Regions from separate parts of the Homo sapiens genome. Here regions 2 and 3 are each linked to region 1. Evidence: promoter capture Hi-C in human tissues and cell types (Jung and others, 2019). All regions are on one chromosome and are shown on one strand. Each heading gives the region's core, a stretch centred on a gene start or on the middle of the fragment in contact. The rest is flanking DNA. Distances are from core to core; before and after follow the strand shown. Region 1 holds the start of TUBG2 (tubulin gamma 2). Region 2 holds the start of PSME3 (proteasome activator subunit 3). Region 3 overlaps ATP6V0A1 (ATPase H+ transporting V0 subunit a1).

What was found. The method cuts DNA at HindIII sites, captures the fragments that hold promoters and counts their contacts. A contact is called where the count stands out against the background at its distance.
Region 2: a contact is called between the fragment with the promoter of PSME3 here and the fragment with the promoter of TUBG2 in region 1, in 2 of the 25 tissues and cell types used here (lymphoblastoid cells and neural progenitor cells).
Region 3: a fragment that was not itself captured here is called in contact with the fragment with the promoter of TUBG2 in region 1 in 1 of the 25 tissues and cell types used here (spleen).

Annotation. Positions count from the first base shown.
Region 1 is chr17:42,657,292-42,662,030 of GRCh38, forward strand. TUBG2 (tubulin gamma 2) reads left to right here and starts at 1,993. Exons shown (of 11, transcript NM_016437.3): 1 at 1,993-2,261; 2 at 2,543-2,655; 3 at 2,858-3,025; 4 at 3,348-3,416. The coding sequence starts at 2,213. RefSeq lists enhancers at 1,825-2,592, 1,950-2,009, 2,020-2,089, 2,140-2,209. The HindIII fragment of the contact is 23,957 bases long and covers 1-4,142 here.
Region 2 is chr17:42,830,609-42,835,347 of GRCh38, forward strand. PSME3 (proteasome activator subunit 3) reads left to right here and starts at 2,789. Exons shown (of 11, transcript NM_005789.4): 1 at 2,789-3,065; 2 at 3,736-3,768; 3 at 3,907-3,969; 4 at 4,164-4,268. The coding sequence starts at 3,024. RefSeq lists an enhancer at 2,437-2,606. The HindIII fragment of the contact is 9,549 bases long and covers 1-4,739 here.
Region 3 is chr17:42,518,415-42,523,153 of GRCh38, forward strand. ATP6V0A1 (ATPase H+ transporting V0 subunit a1) reads left to right here. Exons shown (of 22, transcript NM_001130021.3): 22 at 2,613-4,165. The coding sequence ends at 2,706. Among named protein-coding and RNA genes, the nearest start is that of MIR5010, 6.6 kb to the left of the region's middle. The HindIII fragment of the contact is 4,137 bases long and covers 1-3,981 here.

The DNA of each region.
Region 1 (4,739 bases), core at 743-3,242:
GGTGGAGCTTGCGGTGAGTTGAGATCGAGCCATTGCACTCCAGCCTGGGCAACGAGAGCGAAACTCCATCTAAAAAAAAAAAAAAAAAAAGATTGTAACTTGGCTACTTGGCTGAGCATGGTGGCTCATGCCTGTAACCCAGCACTTTGGGAGGCTGAGGCAGGTGGATTACCTGAGCTCAGGGGTTCGAGACCAGTCCGGGCAACATGACAAAACCCCTGTCTCTACTGAAAATACAAAAAAATTAGCCGGGTGTGGTGGTGCACACCTGTAATCTCAGCTACTAGGGAGGCTGAGCCAGGAGAATCGCTTGAACCTGAGAGAGGCAGAGGTTGTAGTGAGCCGAGATCATGCCACTGCACTCCAACCTGGGCAACAGAGTGAGACTTAGTCTCAAAAAAAAAAAAAAATCTTAAGTGGCATTTACAGTGTTTGTGATTCTAGATCAGGCTACGTTTCATTCCATAAAATAAATAGAATGAGTGTTCAGATGAGTCAAGCACAGGTTAGTTTTTATGGACAAAAAAGGGTAGAGAAAAATAGAAACAGAAGGAAAAAAAGCAGATGGGTCCTTTCAAAGTTACTTTTCTTGTAAAAGGACTTCCGTATCATGCCGGCTCACACTGGCTTGTTTGGGGTTTTGGCTCTTCCTTCCCTCTCCTGATTCCTCTGAAGGTTTGATAAACAACTTAGTGTTGCTTAGTGACATAGAACTTTAGCGTGAGTGACTCCATTTTGGTTTGGTCTGTTGAGCCAAGCACAGGAGCTCAGTGCAAATCAATGGCCTCCTATAAAATTTATTTAACTGAACCCTTGTGCATTGCTGGTGGGAATTTAAAATGGTGCAGCTACCATGGAAAATCGTATGGCGATTCCTCAGAACATTAAACACAATTACCATATGATCCAGCAATTCTACCTCTGGGTGTATATCCAAAATAATTGAAAGCAGGGACTCGAACAGATATTTGTACACTCACATTCAAAGCAGCAACATTCACAATAGCCAAAAGGTGGAAGCAACCCAAATGTCCATGGAGGGATGAATGGTTATGCAAAATGTGGTACATCTATACAATGGAATATTATTCAGTTGTAAAAAGGAAGGAAATTCTGACACATGCTACGAAATGGAAGGATCTTGAAGATATTATGTTAAGTGAAAGAAGCCAGACCCAAAAAGACAAATACTGTATAATTCCACTCATATCAGGTGCCTAGAGTAGTCAAGGGGAAGTTACTGTTTAATCGCGATAGAGTTTCAGTTTGGGAAGATAAGAAAGTTCTAGAAAAGAATGGTGGTGGTGGTTACAGAACAATGTGAGTGTACTTGGTGCCACAGAACTGTATGCAGTACTTACAAATGGTTACAATGGTAAATTTAGGCCAGGAGTGGTGGCTCATGCCTGTAATCCCAGCATTTTGGGAGGCCAAGGCAGGAGGATTGATTGAGGCCAGTAGTTTAAGACCATCTTGGGCAACACGGTGAGATCCCCATCTCTATAAAAATACATTTTAAAAATTTAAAAATTAGCTGGGCGTGGTAGCACACGCCTGTAGTCCCAGCTACTCGGGAGACTGAAGTGGGAGGATCACTTAAGCCAGAAGTTCAAGGCTACAGTGAGCTATGATCGCGCCACTGCACTCCAGCCTGGGCGACAGAGCGAGACCCTTCTAAAAAATAAAAAGGTAACATACATGTGTATGTATTGTAACACCATTAAAAAACAGAAATTTAAACGAAGAAAAGTTGGCTTCTAGCCCTTTGATCTAGCAAAGCTGACAGTGTCCTCACCTACCAATATAGGTAGATGACTCCTTACACGTGGACAAGCACATCCACCTGGCCGCTTCTCCCCTTTCCTCCCCTCCCCCGTTCCTCTCCTCCCCAACACATCCAGGTTCCGACCCTGCCACCCCCAACGAGTCTCACTGCGCAGGCGCGGAGCGGTGGGCAGGAGCGGGCGTGGCCTGACTCTGCGCCTGTGCGGAATTCCAGCTGCGACTGCTGAGGGAGAAAATGATGCCCAGGTTGGGCTCCCCGGCCCACCGGCCGAGGAGAGGCCTGCGCTGCACACGCGCAGACCGAGCATCCGCGTCAAGAGGCGAAGAGAGCGCGCGCTCCCCACGTCCTGCGCTCCTGGCTGCCGGGCATTCGTCTCAGCCGTGACTCTCGCCAGGCCGGGGCTGGCGCGCCCACGTCTGAAGAGCGATGCCCCGGGAGATCATCACCCTGCAGCTGGGCCAGTGCGGCAACCAGAGTGAGCAAGCGAGCGCCGGCCCCGCCGGTCTCTGGTTCTGCCCCTTCGGGTCCCACCCAAGTGCCTGGCTTCCACCAGTCCCCCTTTCCCTTCCATGAACCCCCTGCCCTGCTGCTCTGGATAACCCAGACCGAGAGCTGCGCCTCCAGCCCGGGGCTGGGGCAGCTACCAAACCCAGGCATCTTGGGTCCACCCTCTGATCGTGTCAGCCTCTGAGACTAAAACTGGGCTCCTCAGGCCTTAAGGCTCCAGCAGACCCGGGCATCTCCCCCCTCCCCCAGTTGGGTTCGAGTTCTGGAAACAGCTGTGCGCCGAGCATGGTATCAGCCCCGAGGGCATCGTGGAGGAATTCGCCACCGAGGGCACTGACCGCAAGGACGTCTTTTTCTACCAGGTGCCCCCAGCGACTTGGCCGGGGGCGGCAGTGGCCCAAGGGGGCGGAAGGGAAGGGAGTGGCCTGGTACTGGGAACCCCGCTGGGCAGTAGGGCCAGGCGGCTGGCTTGAGGAGGGAGGGCCGGAGGGAGCCAGAGTTGGGAGGACTTCGGACTTGGGCCGCCCTAGCTGATTGGGCCCCCTCCTGGACTCCCCTTGACAGGCAGACGATGAGCACTACATCCCCCGGGCCGTGCTGCTGGACTTGGAACCCCGGGTGATCCACTCCATCCTCAACTCCCCCTATGCCAAGCTCTACAACCCAGAGAACATCTACCTGTCGGAACATGGAGGAGGAGCTGGCAACAACTGGGCCAGCGGATTCTCCCAGGTGTCCTAGCGACCATTCCAGAGACCTTTGATATTCCCATCCAGAGGCAAGGCAGGCTCAAGCTACTAGGAATTTGACCTGACTGACAGAAAATAAGAGACAAAAGGATGTCCCGAACAAGAGGGACAGCCAGGGAGAGGTTTATGCAAATTTTGTGCAAATCATTTGCAATAGTAGCACTTCTGGGTTGAGGGCTACAGCCTAGGCTCTGCTTCAGGGTGGCAACAATATTCCAGGGTAGACAGAATTCTTGGTGCTGTGCTGAGAAAAGATGCTCTCTGGAACCTTTGGCCTGACCCTCCCTTTCCATATCTCTATACAGGGTGAGAAAATTCATGAAGACATCTTTGACATCATAGACCGAGAAGCAGATGGAAGTGACAGTTTGGAGGTGAAGTTATGGAGTGGGGGAAGGAATGGGCAGGGAGGCCGAAGAGTGCTGGGGACAGGTCAGGAGGTGGCCTGGATAGGTAATATGAGGGGAGCAATTCAATTCAAAACCCGTTTATGGAGCATCAGATGTGGGATATTGAGGTGAATAAGATATAATCTTTGTTCTCAAGGAAGTCATAAATCTGAATGGCACCGGCCCCTTAGGCATGAGTCATTCAGCTGCTTCTCCAGCTCCAAACCTTCCCAAGGAGCCTCAGCCTGGATGCATAAGAGGAAGCTTTGAGACATTGGCGTTTTGGGAATGGAGAATGAACCAAGCCGAAGTCTCTCCCCCAGATCCTTGGAGACTGCCTCTCCATCTCTCCCCATGCTGGGTGCGATATGTTCCTGGCTTACAGCTCTTATAACCCATGTAATTTCCTAAGGGACTAGAGCAATAATAGTATGTTTTGTTAAAATATTTGACCTTTTGTCCTTGGTTTCTGAAACAGCTCCAGAACAGCTCCAGAGTGATAAAGGTGAAAGACAGTCTTTTGTTATTTATAACAAGCCCGTTTCTTTTAGTTTAATCTTTCATTTTATTTTAATTAGTTAATTTTACTAACCACTGTACTAAGGAGGAACAAGTGCCTTTCAACCAAACCTGAGCTTATGTTAAAGAGGCGATTTTTGGAAAGTCCCAGATAGCCACTGGATGGGGGGCTGGTTGCCAGGGGAACAAACCTGGTGCTCTGAGGGTTGGAATTTACAGGCCCACCCCTCACCTCTGGGGAAGGGAGAGGGGATGAAGATTGAGTAGAGCACCAATTGCCAATGATTTAATCGGTCATGCCTGTGTAATGAAGCCTCCATAAAAATCCAAAAGGACTGAGTTTGGGGGCTTCCAGGAAGGTGAACAAGAACACATCCACAGGCCAGGAGGGTGCAAACCCAACGCCACAGGGCAGCAACTCCTATGCGCCGGACCCTTCTAGAGCTTCCCCTCGGTATCTCTTCATCTGGCTGTTTATTTGTATCCTTTAAAATATCCTTTATAACAAATGGATGAACGTAAGTAAGTGTCTCCTTGAGTTCTGTGAGCTACTCTAACAAATTAATTGAACCCAAGGAGCAGTCCTGAGAACCTCGATTTATAGCTGGTTGGTCAGAGGCACAGATAAAACAACCTGAAGCTTGTGTTGGCATTGGAAGTGGGAGAGTCTTGTGGGACTGAGCCTTCACTCTGTGGGATCTGATGCTATCTTCAGGTACAGATACTCCTCAACTTACAATGGGTTTATCAGGATGTAAACACATCACAAATTGAAAATATTGACTAGGC
Region 2 (4,739 bases), core at 1,539-4,038, 170 kb after region 1:
ACAATAAATAATTCAAGAAGTCTTGCCAGGAAGGAGAGCACAGAAAGGGAGTAACAGCTACAGAGGAATCTGGATTCGGGGGGGAGTTTTCTCAAGATAGGGGATATTGGTTATGTCTGGAAATGACCCAGCAGAGGATGTGATGTAGGAAAAAGAGGGGCTAATCATGGGCACAGACATGGGATTGAGAAAGTCAAAGGGGATGGAATCCAAAGCACAAAAGGAAGAGATAGGAACAGGTTTGTTTCCTTCAATGAAAGAGGAAAGGCAGAAAGTATTTTGCAGATTGGCAGATTTGGTGGTGAGATGATGAGGTAGTTCTCATCTGCTTCTGTTTTCTCAATAAAGAATGAGCCCAGGCCATAAGTTGGAGGTGGGAGAGAAGGAATACTGGAGGTTCAGGGAGATGAGAAAGTATGATAGTCATTGGGAGGGTGGGAGAGCAAACTTGTCAGGAGCATGTAGTAGGAGCTCAGGCAGTGTTGTGCACTCATTTGAGATTTTGGGACATGAATTTAAAATTAGACCAGTCATCAGTGATCACATGTGACTTGTAAGCACCCAGAAATGAATAGTTATTGTTAAGTGTAGTGGTACTCTCCAGTTGTTCACTGAATAAACAAATGAATGGAGTATTATATTAAACACTTGGATGGGGAGGAGGAAGGGAAATAAAGAGAATGTGTATCTGTCTTATAACCTACTTGAAGGAGACAAAACATAATTATTTGAGAACAAAGCATATTTTAACAGGCACAAACATATTAGCTTTTCCAGTTGATGTTATAAATTCTGACTGGAATAAGAATAGTGGCATACTTAAAATAGAATGGAGTAAATGTGGGAAATAATTCCTGAAGTTTCAAATCGGATCTCAAAAGTTCCCAGGGAAATGTGTTAACAGAAAACATGTAAAAGGGGGAAAACTGATAGAGCATGATGTTATATGTGGCCTTCTATAAGCTGAAAAGGACTTTGAGCTTGAAAGCAGGAATGGAAATAATTACTGTAATTTAAGGAGTAACCTCTTCATGCTAAGCATTAACAGATCACTTACTTACCTGACAGTGGCTACTATTTATTTTGTGTCTAAGCACTGTGCTAATTGTTTTACATATATTATTTCTAATATTCACAACACTACAAAATTACATACTATTATTTATTACTAATTATTAAAATTCCATCTTACAGATGAGGGAATCGAGACTCAGCATTTCAATAATTTGCCCAAGATTCCAGTTAGTAAGGAGCTGAGGTGGGATTTGAAGCCCAGGTCTCTGATCCCAAAGGCCATAGTCAGTCTTCTGTGCTTTACTCCATTTAATTGTGTATTCCCCTCATTTTCCTAGCACTTAGTAGAGAGGCCAGCCTAGGATAAATGTTCAACAGCAAGAGCGACCCCAAAATACAAATCTGATGACCTCCTTTTGCACTTAATCTAGATTGTTTACTAACAACCCTCCTCACCCTCAGCTCACTAGTCTTTGTCTTCAAGACAATCTCTTTCCTTCCCTAGAGCATTTGCCTGAGCTGCCCTTATACCTCTCAAGGCTCTTCTCACTCTTTCCATGCTAACCTCTTTATATCCTTTAGATCACAGCTTGCCTGTTCAGAGGCCTTCCTTGGCCATTCGATCTAAAATAGATCTCTCGTATTTTCTATGTCATCCACTTTTTCCCTAACATTTATCAAATTTTGCAGTTACCTTGTCAGTTTACTTTCTGGTGTTTTTCCAATATTATGCCCCATGGGACCAGCGACCTTGAATCTTGTTTGCCTTTGATTTCCCAGAGCTGTGCTCTTCAATACAGAAGCCAGCAGCCACATGTGGCTACTGAGCACTGTACTACAAATGTGGTGTTGCCTTATTGAGATGTGCAGTTAAGTGTAAAATACGCACTGGATTTTGAAGACTTGGTATGAGAAAAGAATGCATAAGATCTCGATTTTTAAATGTTGATTACATGTTGAAATACTTGTATAAACTGGGTTAAATGTATGACTAAAATTTTCACTTGTTTTACTTTTTAATTGTGGCTACTAGAAGATTTCAACCTACATATGTGACTCACATATTTCTAGAATCTGACACAGTGCCCTGCCCCATTTTATTGAATGATATATCCAATGTCGAGAGAGAGAGATCGAATGAATGGGTGCATGAAGAGGTATAGTCTCATGCTTCCACTAGGCAAATAGATACAGCACTGCCGTAGAAGTTAGGAGATCTGGGTTCTGGCTCAGGATGTACTGGAAACGCCTTGGACAAGCCCTACCCTACTCTGGGGATCAATTTGCCAATTAGGTAGTTGATCTTTGAGGTCTGGAAGCTTACGAGAATCAGTTGGCAGGGAAATGTACCAGGAAAGCTTGGTACAACGGCGCTTGTCTTTTTCGCTCTAGCCTAAACACTTGAGCCTCGGCAAACGGGCAGAGGCAGCGGGAATCAGGGACTACACCCCCGAACCCAGTACCCGGGTCCCCGACTTCCCCGAGCCTACGTCACTGGGGCGCGACGGCGTTGTCCCCGGGAGTGCAGCGGCTGAGAAGGTCCCTTCGGTGAAGGCGAGTTCCGGGACAACAGAGAGGGCCGCACCGTTTCCGAGTCTCTCGGAGGCTCAGTTCTCAGCGCACCATTCCCCACAGCTCTCCTTTTTACTTTACCCCTACCCGACACTTGACCCCGGCAGTGTGAACCCCGCTGGGAGCGTCCAAAGCCATGCCTCATCGCGGCTGCGCAGCGCACGTGCACAGCCTCGCAGGAGTCTCGGCGATTGGCTGTGACGCAGTTTCCGGCGTGAGCGGCGAAAGCCGGGAGGGCGAGCGAGAGAGCAAGCAGGCAGCAGGCTGCCGGCGGGCGGGCGGACGGCACAGAGGGAGGGAGCGAGCGAGCAGTGAGTAAGCCAGCAAGGGCGGTCGGGTCCCGAGGTCAGCCGAGATTTCTCAGGTCCCTCCGGCCCCCTCCCTGGAGTCCACAGCGCCTCCGGTGTCCAGAGGATCGGACACGGCCCGGCCCGGCCATGGCCTCGTTGCTGAAGGTGGATCAGGAAGTGAAGCTCAAGGTAGCGGCACCGGTCCGGCCTTTTTGCCCCTCGCTTTGATCCCCCAGCAGTCTGACCGGCTTCCTACTCCCCATGGCGTCTTTGTCTCCCTGGGGATACCAGCTCTGAGCTTCCGCTCGGCTCAGCCCAGCCCCCAACTCCCGGGGTCGGCTTCGCGGGAGAGGAAAATATAGGATGGCTTTCTGTACCGCGTCTGATGATGGAGAGTCCCGGGGACACCTCCGCGGACACGTGTTGGACTCAGGGCTTTAGGCCCGTGACAGCTGGTAATCCCCCAGCCCAACAACGTCCCTGGACACTGCCCCTGCCCTTGGCGGCTGGCCTGCCTAGTATCATAGACTAGGTCTGGGTGGGGGTTGGCACGTTTGTGAGCTCACATCTTCCCTAACTACCTGTCTTTTGTCTGCTTATCAAATTCAGACAGCTTCAGACACAGGAGGAAGGGAGGGAAGGGGGAGGACAGAGGAGACAGGCAGGTGCTGTCCTCAAAGCCCTGCGTTCTTCTGAGATGGAAAAATGGATCCTCAAAAAAATAAAGTATTTGCAGTCTGGGGGCCTCTCAGCTTCTTATTACAGTTACAAGGTGAGGGAAAGACAGTTGGATTGGGATTCTCCATCCTGCTCTTACCTCTGTCCCCAGGTACTGAATTGCTCTCTTTGTTAATTTTAGGTTGATTCTTTCAGGGAGCGGATCACAAGTGAGGTGAGTGAAATAAATAGAAAAATGGTTGTTGGTTGAGAATTTCCCAAAGAGGAGATACCTGGAGAGAGAGAGAGAGAGAGAGAGAGAGAGAGACCTTCCCACAGATATTAATTCAGCTGTATTTTCCCTCTTCCTTAGGCAGAAGACTTGGTGGCAAATTTTTTCCCAAAGAAGTTATTAGAACTTGATAGTTTTCTGAAGGTGAGAGACCCTATTCTTTCCTCAAATTCCCCAATTTTTTTGGCCCTGGTATTACTGTCAACTGGGATAAACTGTTGATTCTTCTTCTTTTTATTTTTTTAAACTGTAAAAGCACTTTCATTTCTTGCTCTTCAAATCAAATACTTCTTTGTTCAGCTTGAAAAGATTAATGTTTTGGGGTGGGTGTCTTTCAGGAACCAATCTTAAACATCCATGACCTAACTCAGATCCACTCTGACATGAATCTCCCAGTCCCTGACCCCATTCTTCTCACCAATAGCCATGATGGACTGGATGGTGTAAGTGTCCTATATTTATCTTTGTGTTCTTGAGCAGTAGGTCCTCTGTCCTCTGTTTCCTTGTCAGTTTAAGATGTACAGAGGGAACAGTGGGATTTGGATCTGGGAACTAGGACTCTGTTACAGACATGATGACTCTAGTATAGTTCTTTTATTTCTTATTTATTTATTTATTTTTGAGAAAGGGTGTCACTTTTTTTGCCCAAGCTGGAGTGTAGTGGCGGGAATGCTGCTCACTGCAGCCTTGACCTCCCGAACTCAAGCGATCCTTCCTCCTCAGCCTCGCAGGTAGCTGGGACTACAGGAGTCCACCACCATGCCCACTGATTTTTGTATTTTTTGTAGAGATGGGGTTTCACCATGTTGCCCAGGCCGGTCTCAAACTCCTGAGCTCAAGTAATCCACCCGCCTCAGCGTCCCAAAGTGCTGGGATTACAGGCGTGAGTCACTGCACGGGGACTCCAGTATATT
Region 3 (4,739 bases), core at 663-3,162, 140 kb before region 1:
CATTGCCCTGATATTCAGGCCGTCAGACAGATGTGTGTTGTAGGCCCTGAACGGCACAGAGAGTGGCAGAACAGGCTACATAAACAGCTCAGCCCAGAATTGTCTTTCCAGACTGCCTGCCCTCAGTCACAACCCCCACCAGGGAAGGGAAGCGGCCCCAAGACTCCTTCCTCCTTCACCCACTCGAGGAAACAGAGTTCCTGTTACGTGGCATGAATGATGTCTTTTGGCCCCAGTTAATCCCTCTGAGTCACCAGGTGGCCTTTGCCAAGTGCTGGAGCTGGAAGAGATGATAGAGACACTCATCTGGCGTCCTGAGGCTCTCCTCACAGCTGTTGAATTCTAGAGGTGCATTTCAGTGTCTTGGGGCATGGCAAGACTTTGGAGGCTCCCTGAGCAGAGCAGTGGAGATGCCCAAAAAGAAGGAAGAACCTAGGATGGCAGATGGGGCCCCCCTTGCCCTGGGGAACTTCATGTTTGTACTTTCTCAGGAAGCACACATTTCCCCAGTTCAGCGGGAGAGAGTGGGGAGACTAGCAGGGAAATTGCTTTCCAGCTTTGTGCTGGGTGGTTGGGGTGAGGGTGGCCACGGAAGGAGGTGAAATCAGGCTGACCTCAAGATAGACCCAAGATGTCCCAGTTCTGGCCGCTCTAAGTCTCTAAAGCAGCAGCTGGTGGGAGGGGCAGTATTGGGCAGTATGTCAGGGAGGCCACCTGTCTGCTCACACAGTACAATTGATGTGCCCCTCCCAGGCATATATCCCTCTTCCTCCTTGCTGGGCCCCCATGGGTAGATAAGGTGACTGGAGGGGTGCCAAGAAAAGGGCGGTGCCCCCACAGGCATCTGAAAACAAAGCTGCTGCTCCATTTGCCCAGTTTGAAGATTAGAATGGTTTTGTGATTAGCCAGGAGGGGGTGGGGGTCAGAGTTCTGGACACCTCACTGGAGTCGGGGGTCAGCATACCCTACCAAGGCTGACATTCACTCCTAGGTAATGGCCTGGGACCCTCAGGTGACTTGTCCACTCTCTGGCTATGTATTGTTGAATGAAAAGGGGACATGTAAATCTCGTTTCAGCTGTTCTGAAATAACCCTTGCCACATGGGAACACAGTCTATTCAACATGAAGAATTCAAACCTAACACAAGTGGGTGAGAAGCAGGAACCCACTGCTAGGCCCCACCGCGTTCCCTCAGAGGTGGTCTCAGTAGCTGGAACTTGGAGAAGTAGTTTTGGTGGGGTGTTGGGACGTGGGTGAATCCAGGTCCTGGTTTGGAATTGCTCTGGTGGGAACCGTCAGCTAACGTCAGTTGGAAGCTCTGTGTCCTCCCCCTCCTGAGTCCTGTTTTTCCTGGAGGACCTTGGCCCACCCCTGTGGAATGTGGGGATGTGGGGAAGAAAGCTGACTGCTTTTACTCCCACTCAGAAAATTCGGTTGCGCTCTTCTTCAAGGGGGTGCTCCTCAGCCTGCACCCCAGTGAAGGGGCCTCTGAGGAACTCCCAGTGCCACTGGCAAACAGTCTGTAACCTTTGGGCCCCAGCCACCTCCCAGCCCCTGTTCTCTTAATTCCTGCCTTCTTGGCTTGGAGGGAGGAATCTCCATTTGTAAAAGCTGAGTTAGGGAACTAGAGGGTTCCTGAAGCTTTAAAGCGCCTCAAAGCCCTCACCCTGCACGTGACCTGTCACCTGGAGCCTGCCCCAGCCCCCACGCCTGCCTGTTCTTATAGGGGCTCCGGTGCCTCCAGGGTCACACAGCACCATGTGGAAACTATTCCTCAGGGCAGCTCTCCTTGGCCTTTTTATCCCCTGAATCATGCATTTTTCTGCCCTTATTTGGTGTGGTTTGGTTGCTGGGCAGCTGTCCAGGGTGAGTTTGCAGGAGGAAGCACAGCCAAGCAGCCTCGCTCTGCTTATGGGACAGTCTTCCTCCCACCCTCCCTGAGAGTGAAAGGGCCCCACAGAGACCATCAGGCATGGATGCTGAACTGCTGGGAAGGGAGCTCAGGCTTTTTCTTTTTAGTCCCCAAGAGAAGAATTCTTTCTCAGATGTTTTTGTGGTTGGAGAATATTTTTGCCATTGCTTTGAGAAGACTTCCCCTCCTAACTCCCCCTCTTTCCTTGGAATTTCCTTCCTTAAATGGAAAGCCTTCAACATTCACTCCAAGCTCGCCCTTTTGCTCCCCCAAGGAAAAATAACAAGCAAACAGAGGTGCTTGCCCAGTGTCTCTGGAGGGGCTTCCCTTAGAGGTGGGCTGTGTGATCCCCTGCCAGGAGGGGGCGATGGGGGCCACTTGTTCATTAACGATGTTAGGCTCAAGGTAACTGAACTTTTTTTGCACATGCCTCTCTGCAGAGAGTTGTGCATAAACACACTGCTCGGCAGGACAGAGCAAGATTGGGAACTGAGGGCAAATCCCTTCCTCCGTGCGTCGAACTCTTGATCCCAGGCCTTAAAAGTGGGATCTCTGCACTCTGGGCTTTCTCTAGCTTCCCCAGGGAAGGGAGGCTCGGGGTGAGGTGGGCACGGGGCATCTTTCCTGCCCAACTGTGAAGTCCTAAAAAGCTTCACAAAGTTTCTATTGAATGACAGCTTTCTTCTTCTCTTTCTCCAGGGTTGAGTTCCAGAATAAATTCTACAGCGGGACCGGTTTCAAGTTCTTACCCTTCTCCTTCGAGCATATTCGGGAAGGGAAGTTTGAAGAGTGAGTCCCTGTGAGGGCCGTGTGCCCCATGCTACCCTCCCCGCCTCCCTCCACAGTGATCAGCTGTGCCTCTCTGCCTGTTGGTTGTGATCTGTGGGCACCAGCTCATTCGTGTCACCCTGTCTGTGAGTCATTTAGATAGAATAGTCCTCCTTGGGTCTCCCACCACCCCTAGCTTTGTGTGTAGTGTAGTGATTTTCTGGCTGTCACTCATACTCACTGGGCACCAGCCTTGCCCTCTTAGCCTCCATCCATCCAGACAGCCCTTCCCACCTCCTGGTGGTGAGCCAGTCTGCATTCCCACGCCATCCCAAAGCCCTTTCATCTTCCCCGTGCATTGTAGATGGAAGGAGCACCCATGCCATTCACATCTAGACTTTGAGTTCCCTGCATCTGCCACCGTAGTTTCTAGCAGGAGTAGTGGGGGGAGTAATACAGATTCTTCCCTAGAAGGGGACACTGGTAACATGTCCCACTCTTGGATTAGCAGGGGTGGGTCCAGGAAGATGATATTTGCGTCTTTTGCCCACCCCCCTGGCATTCAGCTGGACCCAACTAGGCCATCATGAGTGGCTTCTCCCTGTCATCCCCAGGGGTCATAGGATATCTACACCGCCTTTCTGACCCCACCCTGCACTCCCATCCTTTCCTCTCTCCCCGTTCATGCCCTGCACTACATAGCACAGCCGGGATGCTTGGAACAGAGGCCTTGGCTGCTCCGCAGTGCACAGGGCTTCCCTCTCTCGGGGTTGGCTTCTTCCCAGGCCTTGCATGGGCCCTGCCCACAAGCACACCCTCAGGCCGAGGGTGCAGACTGATGCTCTTCCCTGATGGAGACCCTGAGATCTTCCCCACCCCCAATCATGATGTCTTCAGTGTGGGACTGGGGTCCTCTTGGTTCTGCCTGCAGCCTGCCTGGCTCCGCCCCTAGTGCCCCCTCCTCACCACACTGGCCCCAGGTCTCAGGAGGGGTGTCCTGGGCAGGGAAGGTCAGTGTCACTGATGGTTTGCTGTTTGGAAGCCATTGGCAGGGCTGCCGTGCATGTGGCTGTGAGGGCTGCACAGTCCTGCCAAGGGGCTTCCTCCTTGTCACCCCGAACCTTGTAATCGTGTGCTGGCGTGGCAGCCCTGGCTAAGTTAATCCCCACCGCTTTCAGTGGTAGAAAGAATTCCCTGAGTGGGCCAGGCTGGTGCCCTCCTCCTACCCTGGCTTTTCTGAGTGAGCTGCCTGGAGCCCTCATCCCCTCTCCCAGGCTGGGCTGGCCCTGGGCGGGGCCACTGTGTGCTGGCCCACTGTGACCTGACCCGACCTTGTGCAGCCCCCCTGCCCTGGTGTCCTGGGTTTTCGTGATGATCTTTGCTCTGTTTCCAGTGGGGTTTGAAGCAGAGTTCAGGGAACCCTGCCCAAGGTCCTCCTGTTCAGACATTCCTATGTTGAATAAAGTATGTTTGACTTCCCCGGAGAAGCTGCCTGTCACTGTGCCCACAGCCCCTGCGTCGCTCCAGGCTCAGCCATCTTGAGCCCCTGTGGACCCCTGACCTTCGCCTCCCTCCTCCAGCATTGCTGCTTTTCCTTCTATCAAAGGCCACAGCTTCAGTAGGCCTGGCTGGGCAGTTGGTTTGGGAAATTCTCACCTTGTCCCAAGTTTCCCAGGCGCCTTCCCACTCACAGGATCCAAGTCAGCTCTGCAGACACTACCTGTGGGAAGAGGGGACTGGGCAGCCCATCTTCGTCTCCCGTTTACTCATTGCACATCCAGACAGCATGGGGGCAGAGGGGCACTGGGTATCTCCCCACGCGCCTCTCCCTCTTCTCCAAGTGTGCCCTCCAGGGCCCAGTGGCCTGGCTATGTTGAGCCCTGATACCCCGGCCTTAGTGTAAGTGGAGGCTCCACACAGGTTCCTCAGGGCAGCTGGGGAATGTGAGGTGCTGGGATTGGCAGGCGGCAGGGTGGAGAGCAGGCAGACCGTCCAGGGTGGCAGGCTGGGCAGGAGGCCCCCTCCCCACTGCCTAGTGAGGCACTGCATTCTCGGTAC